Regions from separate parts of the Homo sapiens genome. Here all the other regions are linked to region 1. Evidence: promoter capture Hi-C in 16 types of primary human blood cells and fetal thymus (Javierre and others, 2016). All regions are on one chromosome and are shown on one strand. Each heading gives the region's core, a stretch centred on a gene start or on the middle of the fragment in contact. The rest is flanking DNA. Distances are from core to core; before and after follow the strand shown.

Region 1 (3,765 bases), core at 560-3,059:
ACACTGAAACATTTAGAAGACAAGAAAGCAAAACACAGCTACACATATTGCATTTAGGATGCAGAATAGAAGGTCACTACTCAAAGCATTTGTCATTTAAAAGAAAGTCATAATTTATTATAAGCTTTCAGAAAAAAGAATATAATTTCATTTTCAACACTAGCAAAAAGGAGGCAGCTGCCTTTGCTACATGACGCATTAGGTGGGCCATTTCACTAATTACCTGATTTTAGAAAACGCCAAAGGCTATGGAAGCCTATTAATGGTTCCGCTGAATCTCTGCAGATGTGTTTGTTTTCTAAATCCTTTGCCAACCAATAATTCCCATGAGGACTCTTTTAGTCTATACTGACAAAATTATTAATATGCTGTTGATGCCAGACTGTGTTTGTTATAGTTGATTCTCCCATCCAAGTACAAGAAATGTATTGAAATAAAAACTGCTCAGCATATCTTAAAAATAGTAGCTACATATAAAATTTTAGCTACATGAAAGACTTTAATATTTCCAACATACACTGTTTTCTCTTTCTCTTCTTGCATTGTTTTTCAAAACGAGTTGCAAAACTATGATCACTAATGTGTTAGGAAAGAAAAAAAACTAGTTGCAAAACATTACAACTTAGCTCACCTTCGCAGTTCAAGATTATTTTCTTTTTTATGTACTACCTGGTTTATCAGCTTTAACCTACAATATCTCGTCATTGCTTTCTGACACTCAAATTCAGTCTAAAATCAAATCAAGAATTTCCTAACACAAAGGTAAGTTTAGGTATAGGACCGATCTTATACCTTCAAGGGCAGTTTAAAGATTCTGCTAAAAATTAGTATGTATCTCCATCAATATTTTGAAATATTTATAACTGGTGGTAAGAATAGCCTTCCTACATGGGATAGTCAGGTTAAGATTAGAAATAACCAAGCGTATCCTCTAAGATAGTTTTTTAAATGTTTAAACTTACCTTTAAGGGAAATAAGTGGGGGCTGACTCACGGAAAGAGGGGATAGAAGGTAGGGAAAGGGCGAAGGCTAGAGTTAAGTGAAGAATCCCGTACGTAGAGTGACATCATAGAGGACTTTTGGCTGGTGAAAAGACCAGTCGGGAATATAGCCAATATATATCAACCTTGCCACTCATATAACTTAAAACCGACTGCATATGTATCCCCGTATTTCTTCTTCAAAACACTACTAACAAATAATAAATCACCGCCCATATAAGCAATCTGCGACTCTAATACGGGTGCTAATTTATTTGTTCAGGTGGTCTACAAACGTTCTGTTCTGCCTGTCTATTAAATTTCCACACGTACTAGGCGCTCACATGGGATAACCTGATGCTTACAAAGCGGATTAAACTCAGTGGCAAATGTTATCTGGGTATTCGTTTACACACGGAGACACCCCTAAAGGATCGCACCTGCTTGGGTCATAAGAAACAGAAAAATGCAAAAACTAAGGTAATTCCAAAAGACAGAAAACGCAGAACGCTTCTTTATCTGCAGAATGTACCGTTCTCGGACGGCTCAACGTACCAGGCTCCCAGCAACTAAGTCAAGATGCCTCCAACTCGAGAGACAGGACCGTCAGCCACTCAGTTAGCAGCTATCTTCTTCTAATTCCTATTGTACTAGATGAGCGCAATGAGGCGGGCTCTTAGCCGACAACCAACCAATTGAGTATTGTATGGAACCGGAAGAGACTCTGGTCCTGGAATTCTTGGGTATTCTCTATGGTTCCAGGGTCAAGCGGCGCTAAGAGAAGGCGGGACAGAGGAATGGGAAATGACGTGAGGAGTGCGGAGGGGCGCGAGGTTTCAAGATGGCGGTAGCTGAGGGGTTGACCGAGAGACCCAGTTGAAGGCCTTTACGAAGTGAAAGAGGCCGGGAGTCGCCCCCTACCCGCTTCTCGTAGTCCTGGGAGCACAGCAGAAGTGTGAGTGTATTGAATTGATTTACTACTCTTCCTCACCTCTTTCGTCCCTTCCACGTCCCGCGCAGCGGCTTGGGGGACACCCAGCCCCTTTGCCCCGCTCCTCCTCTCCCTGGTTGAGGTCTCCCTGTTGCGGACTGGGCTATTCCTGGGCCTGGGGTGGCGCGGCGACCAGTGGTTGCGCGGTTGGCATCGCCCGGGTCGGTTGGGGCCGCTTCTTACGCACGTTGATTAGTAGCCTTAGGTTTGACGTCTTGTACCTCGAGTCATGGTCGGTCAGCCGTCGCTATGGTTTCGTCAGTTGCTGGTGTTGCCTCCTTTGGTGAACCTGGACCCTATCCCATTGAAGCTTCTTTGGCTGTTTAGAGTTATCCAACGCTTATTTGGCTTGATTTTCCAGTCGCCTCCGCTTGTAGACAAAAAACTAATCTGCAGACTTAAGCTCCAGTGTCTTCCGTAAAATTCTCTGTAATTCGTATCCGTTGTGTTTCATTTGTGGGGGAGGAGATTCAGAACATGAGCCTGAGGAAACTTGAGAAAGGAAAGCACAAAAAACGCAGGCAATCAAAGATGGGAGAGCTTGTATATGTACTGATTTTGCTTGTTTTCCTCCTTCCCTACCTCCTACTCCCTGCTGCTCTCCCACCCCCCTAACCCCCCCATCCCCAGTTTTTCTTAGAAGGAAACCACTTGACAGGGTGTATGGTAGCTAGGCCAGGAATATGGATCCATTATAAAGATTTTAGTTAAGTAGTGAGTCAAACATCACAGGATATTTTATTTGTAATCTCATTGTATCATCAGAGCTTTGTTATAAAGTAATTGATGTCCCCATTTTTTAGATGAGGAAGCTAAAAATCAGAGCCTTTGATACCGCTGTCTTGAAGTAATTGCCACCAGAACAGCTGTGAAACATCTGGCTTTCTGAAACATCTGGCTTTCGGGGCAGTTGGACACTTGGTGAAAGAGACATTAACTGTAATAAACTGGGCTGACAAAATCTTCCCTTTCTTACCTTTAAAAAGTGTCTACTTGCAAAAGGAAGCAAATTTGTCCGCCTTTATTACTGGAAAGACTGCGCTTCAAAAAATTAAGCCCCATTATTTTGGAATAAGAGGAAGAAGTCATGTAATAGGGTACTGTGTTAATAAAAGTTTTAGCTTACAAAATATTTTTTCCTCAAACAAAAATAAGTATTCCCTTTAATTACCTTAAGAAATATATATTGGGAGTCAGGTCTTAGTAAGAAAAATATGTGTCTTAATATTTAAGTTTTGGGGAGCTCTCAGTATAGCACTAATTTCAAATATTTGCATTTTTAGTTGTGTTTTGAACTCTTGAGAGTCAAGCATTATATCTGAACTAGAACTGAATCTGAATTAAATATGCTTAAATTAATGAGTTTTTAGTGTCTTAGAAGTATTGAGAATGTACAGCATACATGCCAAGAAAAACCATGGAGAGAGGCAAAGGTGAGGTATGTGTTTTGAGCCTAGATCCATTACCCCCATTCCCTTCTTATTCTTCTTTTACAATTACATGTTAATAAAGGGAGGTTATAGAAGAAGGACTAATGAATTCTGATGTTCATGGTTTGTGCCATATCGTTAAAGCATTTTCTAGTTGTTTTTATCAGTTGACAAAGTCAGTGCTGTGATCCATAAGAAAAAAGCTAAACTGATGACTTGAGGATATTCAAAGTGGTCTTCACACTCATCACATTTCTGAAGAATGATAGAGATCTAAATTTTCATGGTCAAGAAAGGTGATGCCATCTTTCTTGGACATTAAAGTCAAAACTAAGGAAAGAACAGTCTCACAGAATTTCTAATT
Region 2 (4,145 bases), core at 508-3,007, 1.1 Mb before region 1:
GAAGCTGAAAAACATGCAACAAAATTTCAAATAGCGTTAACAAGTATGAATAAAATAGGACTCAGTAAGAAGTGACAAGAGATGGAATACAGACCAGCTGGAGAACTGAATGCAAAGAAAGGATCCAGCCAAGCAAAACATTAGGTAAGAGTGAACCAAGTAGCAGAAATATCAAGTGAAAAGGACTTGAGACAGAAATGAGGCCACTGTGGCTAGAGCAGGGCAAGCAAGGGAAATATGAAAAAGTCACAAAAGGTATCAAGAGCCAACTAATCATAAGAATTTCATATAATGGGAAGCCATTACAGATCTTAACAAGGAAATCACCTCATCTCTTCAAATCCTAAAGCAATTACCTTTCCTACTGTATGGAGTATGGATGGGATAAGAGCCAGACGAATGAGTAGGGGCAAGAGGGAGCAGTTATGAAGGAACTGAGAAATAAAGGTAGCCTGCCTAGGGTGGTAACAATGGAGAGGAGGCAAAGCACAGCTTCGAAGAGCCCACAGGACTTGCATATAGACATGGGCATGAGAGAGAACACAGTCAAGGATTTACATGTCTTTTAGTTTGAACAAGTAAGTATAAGTTAGTACCAGTTAGTGGAATGGGGAAAGGTTGAGGGAAACAGGTTTGATTTAAAAAATCAAGACTTACGATAGGTAAGTCTGAGTCTTATGAAAGGTTAAGATGGAGCACTCAACTATGCTGTCAAACTCTGGTGCTCAAAGAGGCAGACCAGGTAGACAACATATAAACAACGATGTAGAACCTATCAGAAGATCTTGAGTAACAGCAGATATTTTTCTTTAGACAACAGAGCTAGAAAGTGCAGCCCAGATCTGAAGTCAAGAAAAAAAAGGAGGAACTGGCAAATACAAGAGTCAGTAAGGTATAAAAAGACCCTGCCGGGCACGGTGGCTCACATCTGTAATCCCAGCACTTCGGGAAGCCGAGGCGGGTGGATCACGAGGTCAGGAGATCAAGACCATCCTGGCCAACATGGCAAAACCCCGTCTCTACTAAAAATACAAAAATTAGCTGGGCGTGGTGGTGTATGCCTGTAGTCCCAGCTACTCAGGAGGCTGAGGCAGGAGAATCGCTTGAACCTGGGAGGCAGAGGTTGCAGTAAGCTGAGATCGCACCATTGCACTCCAGCCTGGGTGACAGAGCGAGACTCCATCTCAAAAAAAAAAAAAAAAAGACCCAGGAGTGTAGTTTCATAGAAGCTAAAAAAAAAAATCAAAAACCAGGAAGTGGATGATTATTGAATGCTGCTGAAGGTTTAGTTAAGATGAGAACAGAAAAGTGACCACTACTCTTGAAAGTTTTGTTAAATTCTACTGTAGGATTCTACCATTACCAAGTGTGGTAAGCAGACTAATAACTAATGGCCCCCACAAAGATGTCTACTTCCCAATCCCCAGAACCTGTGAATATGTCATCCTATATGGCAAAAGGGACTTTTGCAGATGTGATTAAATTGAAGATCTTGAATTGGAAAGATTATCCTGGATTATTCAGGTGAGCCCGATATAATTACAAACCTCCTTATAAATAAAAGAAGGCAGCAGGAGATAGAGTCACATTCAGAATAAGAGATTAAAAAACGGACACTGCTGGACGTAAAGAAAGAGGAAGGAACCATGAGCCAGGGAATGCAGCTGGCTTCTAGAAGCTAGAAAAGGCAAGGGAACAGATTGTCCTGTAGAGCCTCTAGAAGGCTTGCAGCTCTGCTGACACCTTAATTTAAGCCCAGCAAGACCTACTGTGGACTTCTGACCTCCCTAACCGTAAGATAATAAATTTGTGTTGTCTTAAGGTACACATTTGTGGTCACTTGTTACAGCAGCAGCAGGAAACCAATACACAAAGGACTGTACCTGTACAGGGTCATTAGACTTTTATGAAACCTAAGGAGAAATTCCCTTGGTTCATAAATAACAAGCAACTTCATGATTCCAATCTGATGCGTACAGAACTTTATTGAGGGTAAATCAGACTCTGATTAGAGTCTGAGCAACTGCTGGTACAATGACAACACTGCTGCAATCCAGAGGTTCAGGCATGTAACAAGCTGACACAAAAATACTACCACTCTATGAAAGCCAATATGGATCACCAGTTGGCTCCCCTGTATTTCTCTCGGCCCTCACAGGTTGTCACAGCCTACAGTGCTTTCTTCTGGTTATCACAAATCCTCAAAAATTAATCTTATTCTTTGGTTGACTCATATTGCTTTTAAGAAAAGTTATCAAGGGTCACTCACAGGACTGATCAGGAGAAAAAGGAAGTTGCAGAGATGTTATTTATTCATCTGAAGTATTTCCAAATTACTCATTTAATATGCCCTCTTTGTTTTAAAAAATAAATTACAAGTCTAAACTCAGCTGATCCAATTTATTAGAAGGTTTTAGAAGGGCTTTCTGAATGCCACCCAAATTTAAAGAATGAGGTAAAATTCCATACTTCTTAAACCACTGCAGGACTATAGTAATCCCATTTTTATAAAATCCATTCTATCTATCTGTATATACATACAGAGATGCCCTAACATGCATTCATGGTCATTTGATTTTAATAGTTTTTTGAGGAGTGGTAGGATTTTAAGTGATCTTTCAGCTTACTGCTAAATTTCAGTTGATTTTTTTTTTCTTATAACTAGCATGTATTATTTAAATAATTGTTTAAAAAGGCATGTCAAGCACTTCTATCCAATCTGGGAATAGAGAAGGTAAATGAAACACTAGTAAAGGACATAAGAATTTCAAAAATTCAGGACAAGTAACTGAATCTCAATATTATAAAATAATGTTTACTACAGATTAATTGGCTTACCTTTTGCTATGGTTATGATACAGAAAAACCTTCTGGCTATTTCCACTTATAAAACTCACATTAGTAGTTTTTCCCCAAAAAAACCAAACATTGTTTTGTTTTAGAGGCATTTTATTTAGACAACTAAAAACAATTAGATGTTCAGAGGCAGTGTACAATGAACGAGAAATCAAACCAGTTACTTTATCATGTATTCCCTCTTCTTTACAACTGAAGCAAAAAAAGAAAAGGCATTCTGCTTTAAGATCAGAAAAAATCAGCCAATATAGTTTTCTTCTCCATATTAACATAAACAGCTACAAGAACCCTAATTGTAATAATAGAAATTGGATGTTGGCTTGTATATATTCATTAAAAAGATAACAGGCCACTGTACTATAAGAGGATAACTCCACCTCCCTTCATCTGACACTTGAGTTTTCACTTACAGGTAACACCAAGTTAGTTAGTTGTTCCAGCACTGGAGCTAATTCATTTTCCTCATTATTTACTGCTGTTTCTGCCTTAAGCAGACAGTAACTCTGGAAGGCTGATGCTTTTCTCTGCTTGCTTGTTTTAGTCAGTTGTATACTAACTGCACATATGATTGACGCTCAGGCCTTAACATCAGGAGCTGAAGGAAAGATGCAATCTGAATTCTCTGAAGCAATTTCTTCTATAAGTAAAAAAAAAAAAAAAAAAAAAAAGTCACATTAGTCAACTTAATGAAAGAAAGAAGCAAATCTACATTTCTGTGTAATGAAGGAATGAAAAAGTGTTTGTAAAGCATACTGTGGTAAGGGAAAGAAGAGAGCAACTGCACATGCCACTAACAACTAGACTCATGTCATTGAAAAGGCAAAGAAGAAAGAGTTCATGTGTTTTATCCACTAGATTCTCTTACACCATAACTCAACCTCCAAGGGTCCCTTTCTGGCCTAAATTTTCAAAGACTCCAGCTATATAACAAACCCGGAATTAAAGTCATGTCTTCGAAGGATCTGGCCCTCTCTTTTAGTGATTCAAATCCTAATATTTAGTGCTATTTAAAGCAAAACATTAACCATCAACATTGTTTTAGCAAGAAGGTGCTTAACAATAAAAAATTTAAGGAAAACTCTATTGGGTAAATGGTAAACACCTTCCCAACCTCCCCCAAAATCATCATACCCAGTTTCTCATGGCAGCAATCTGCATATTTCTTCCTCATGATACCCCCACTCATCAATCTCACAATTCTAACAAGTCTAACAAAAGACTCTCAACTCCATCTACCTTTTTCTGTTCTCATTGCAATACCCTTATTAAAAACTACATGATAGGCCGGG
Region 3 (4,206 bases), core at 1,250-3,749, 1.1 Mb before region 1:
GCCATTCTAACTTCCCAGACAAGGGGAGCAATGCTTCCTTATTCATTCAACAAACACTGATGAAAACAAGTCTTCACATTATGAAAAGTACTGTTCAAGGTGACATAAGTGATACAGACGCCCGATAAGCACAGATCCTACCCTCAAGCAGCCTATTAATAAGGCAGCATTAGAACATAAAAACACAAGGCTGAAATTGGTAGGTACCATAAAAGAAGGCAAAGTATCTTAGCAGATCAGTGTTGAAAAGTCTAGCAGAGGAGACCAAGTAAGCCTTCAGGGAGGAGGTGAAATGGTGAAAGCCAAGTATTTTCACAATATAGGATCGATTGGAATTACAATAATGGCTACCATTTATTGATCACTCATCAAGTTAAAGGTAATTTAATTATATATCTCACTTAATAGTCTCACTAACTCTACCAGGTAGCCATTAGGTCCATTTTACAGATAAGGAAACAGCTGAAGCTCAGATATTAAATTACTTGTTCAAGGTCACACCATACTTGTCAGGGCTAAGATGGAAACACAGATCTCTATAATTCAAAAACCCAAGTTATTTCTAGAATATTGTATTTGTAATCTCTACAGTGAAAAATATATTTACTGAGTTCAATTATTTAACTTTTATATATATACATTTTAATTTTAGAAACAGGGTATTGCTCTGTCACCCAGGCTACAGTACAGCAGTATGATCATCACTGTAACCTTGTCCCGCCTCAGTTTCCAAGGTAGCTGTGACCATAGCGGCATACCACCACACCCAGCTAATTTTGAAACTTTTTGTTGGAGTCTGCTATATTGCCCAGGCTAATCTCAAACTCCTGGGCTCAAGCGATCCTCCCACTGCAGCATCCCAAAGAGTTAGGATTACAGGCATAAGCCACCTAACCCAACCACATATATAATTTTAATAGAATTTTATAGACAACTCTATTTTCAGTCTTTAGAATTCTTACCTGGCTAACATCATTCAAATATTTCTGGATAGAATTATTTGGCTGTTACTCACTAACTCAATTATTTTCTTCAACTAAAGACTGAGAATACAGTAATTTGTTTAAGATTATATACTTTTCATGAAATGAAAGAACATTCTGAAGAAACCAAATAATCAGAAAAGCAAATTGGAGATGAATAAATGTGTTCTATTTGAAAAAACAACAAGAAAAAGTTTAACCAAATATGGATTTTCCAGGGGCAGATGAGAAAGCCCAGAGGTAAAGAAACCAGCTATGAAGCCACCATTGTGATTCAGATGTGTGATAGAATGAGCCAAGCCTAGGGAATAGAAGAGAGGAAGAGATGAATTCACAAGATATTTTTATGAAAAAAAAAAAAAGGAAGACTATAACCAATATTCTGCCATGCAGAGGAATGAATACAAAATAAAAGGCTCTGTTCACATAAGAATTTTTAAGTCAAGGTATACATTCATGAGACCTTGACTTAAGATCTAGAGAAAGAGAAAATATAATGTGTCTAGTCATCAGAGATAGGGCTGAAAATGTAAACTGATCACTGGAATTCAGAGCCTTGAAAGCCAGAGAAGATTATGCTGGCCAGAGAAGGAAGGAAAAGGTCTGAACTGCAAGCACAGGGAACATTCTAGACCTACAATTCCACCAAATGGTCATTTTAAGGAATGATCAGAAGACTCAATGAAGTTCAGAACCAGAAGGGTTTTCAGAAATCTGTGTCTGTTTTTTAAAAGCAAAAACAGGCCGGGCGCGGTGGCTCACGCCTGTAATCCCAGCACTTTGGGAGGCCGAGGCGGGCGGATCACGAGGTCAGGAGATCGAGACCATCCCGGCTAAAACGGTGAAACCCCGTCTCTACTAAAAATACAAAAAATTAGCCGGGCGTAGTGGCGGGCGCCTGTAGTCCCAGCTACTTGGGAGGCTGAGGCAGGAGAATGGCGTGAACCCGGGAGGCGGAGCTTGCAGTGAGCCGAGATCGCGCCACTGCACTCCAGCCTGGGCGACAGAGCGAGACTCCGTCTCAAAAAAAAAAAAAAAAAAAAAAAGCAAAAACAAAAACCACTATTTTTTAGAGCAGTTTCAGACTCACAGCAAAACTGAACAGAAGGTACAGAGATTTCCCACACAAGCTTTGCCCCACACATGCATAGCCTCCCCCATTATCAACATCCCCCACCAGAGTGGTATAAACCTTACAACTGATGAACCTACATTCTCGTGTGTCTGTTTTACAGACTTGGAAAGTACAAGCCAATGTACTGAAGCCCCTCCCCACCCCGCAAGGTTCCACAGCTAGATGCTATCAGGTCTACAACTAAAGTGCCTGGGTCCCAATCCTGTATCCTTCCCAGATAAACCACAGTGCATTCAATGAAGCACAAATGGGCAGGTACACATTCCCTGACATTCTTTCCACAGGATACCTAATTTCAACTTGGCCTGTAAAAACAACTACTGTCAAGCACCAAAACAACTGAACTTTCTCTAGGATGCTTTTCTTTCAGACGGTCTTCAGTATTATCAGCATCAATGCCTATTTTCTAGACTCTACATGCTAATCACTGTGTCCCAAAATTTCTCTATATTAGTAGTTTAATGCAACACTCAGTCAAATATAGCATTCATCTGCAGACTGAAATTATGATTTTTTTCTTGCTGGAGACAGATCTATGGAAATGTTTTCACTAATAAAAATCCATATGAGATCTTTGCCTAGCTCAAGAGATTTCCCACAGCATTTTTAAATGATTATCTAAAGGTTAATAATACAATGTTGACTGGCTAATCATTTCAAACAGGGCAAGTGCATATCCTGATGATGGCCACAGTTTGCTTTCCTTGACAAGAATAAGGCAGCGTACTTCCCCGGGGATATTTTAAAATTTGATGAAGGTAAGCTTCTCAAGGGCAGGGCTCCTAAGTTCTATTGCTCTTATAGCTTTCACAAAGACATGGACAGTGATGAGTTCACAGTACTCAACATACACATGCTGAATGAATGACTTTGAGATTATAATAATGATTGCCTCCTAAGAAGTCAAAAGTTAAAAAAGGAAAACTCTGCTTATAAAGACACAAAACTAAAATACATTTCTTGTTTATTCCTTGGAAAATTATTTATTATTATTATTATTATCTGAGATGGAGTTTTGCTCGTCACCCAGGCTGGAGTGCAATGGCGTGATCTCGGCTCACTGCAACCTCTGCCTCCTGGGTTCAAGCGATTCTCCTACCTCAGTCTCCCGAGTAGCTGGGATTACAGGCGCTCGCCACCAAGCCCGGTTAATTTTTTTATGTATTTCTAGCAGAAACAAAGTTTCACCATGTTGACCAGGCTGGTCTCGAATGCCTGAACTCAGATGATCTGCCCACCTCAGATTCCCAAAATGCTGGGATTACAGGCATGAGCCACCATGCCTGGCCTCTTTGGAAAATTATTAGAAGCACTTAAGTTTCTTGCTACTTACTGAAGAAAAAATAATCTCCCTCAAAATACCACAATATACAGATCTTGAGCTCCTTCACCAAATACAATAGGAATTGTTACAACCTACTTTCTTCCCTGAGTCCAAAATACAAACTTAATCCATAATCTCAAGGAAACATGAATATGTTTTTTTCTACCAGAAAATTAACGGAATTACTCTTTCTGGTTAATCTCACATCTTCAGCTAATGGGATTAGAGGTCTATCTCCTCCAGTCTCTGAGACCACAGAGAAGATATCCTTATGTCAATTTCCAAAATCATCAAGAACACTGATTATATCCTTCCACTAACCACTGGCATCATTTGAATAAAGTATGTCCCTTTTCAGACACAGTGCACTTTTCAGATATATGCACTTACTTCACTACGTCACCCCGATGTTTCCAACATGCCTTCACATTCACTTTAACACATTTCTTCACTTATCTCAATCAAATAAAAAGGCTTATTTCTTTCCATATTTGCTTAGAGAAACTTTGCTTATCAGTGTAAAATATATGATATATAAAGATAATAAGATTAAGGTAAAAATGACATAAGATTTATCAAAAAAACAATAGCTCGTAATTAAAGATTCTCTGAATCTGAACCTGGGTCTACTCCACAGCTTACTGCATGGTTCTGCCCCTGCAGTATTCATTCATAAGAGCTATCTGGGAATCTTATAAAAATGCAGACTCATGGGCTTTCTCCCCATAATACAAATAATTTGGTATTTTTGGGGGGGGTATTTT

The links. Contacts are between HindIII fragments. The CHiCAGO score rates a contact against its expected background, and 5 or more counts as called.
Region 2: a fragment that was not itself captured here is called in contact with the fragment with the promoter of WBP11 in region 1 in 7 of 17 cell types (activated CD4 T cells, total CD4 T cells, naive CD8 T cells and 4 more); the score reaches 12.4 in activated CD4 T cells.
Region 3: a fragment that was not itself captured here is called in contact with the fragment with the promoter of WBP11 in region 1 in 1 of 17 cell types (activated CD4 T cells); the score reaches 5.1 in activated CD4 T cells.

What each region holds. Positions count from the first base shown.
Region 1 is chr12:14,801,522-14,805,286 of GRCh38, reverse strand. It overlaps WBP11 (WW domain binding protein 11), which reads left to right and starts at 1,809. Exons shown (of 12, transcript NM_016312.3): 1 at 1,809-1,935. C12orf60 (chromosome 12 open reading frame 60) reads right to left here and starts at 1,617. Exons shown (of 2, transcript NM_175874.4): 1 at 1,536-1,617. It overlaps SMCO3 (single-pass membrane protein with coiled-coil domains 3), which reads left to right. Exons shown (of 2, transcript NM_001013698.2): 2 at 1-637. RefSeq lists an enhancer at 1,274-1,513. The HindIII fragment of the contact is 2,157 bases long and covers 127-2,283 here.
Region 2 is chr12:15,902,265-15,906,409 of GRCh38, reverse strand. It overlaps STRAP (serine/threonine kinase receptor associated protein), which reads right to left. Exons shown (of 10, transcript NM_007178.4): 10 at 2,932-3,493. The coding sequence ends at 3,432. Among named protein-coding and RNA genes, the nearest start is that of DERA, 7.0 kb to the left of the region's middle. The HindIII fragment of the contact is 6,674 bases long and covers 1-4,145 here.
Region 3 is chr12:15,920,841-15,925,046 of GRCh38, reverse strand. The region is part of intron 1 of DERA (deoxyribose-phosphate aldolase); the gene reads right to left. Among named protein-coding and RNA genes, the nearest start is that of DERA, 12 kb to the right of the region's middle. The HindIII fragment of the contact is 768 bases long and covers 2,116-2,883 here.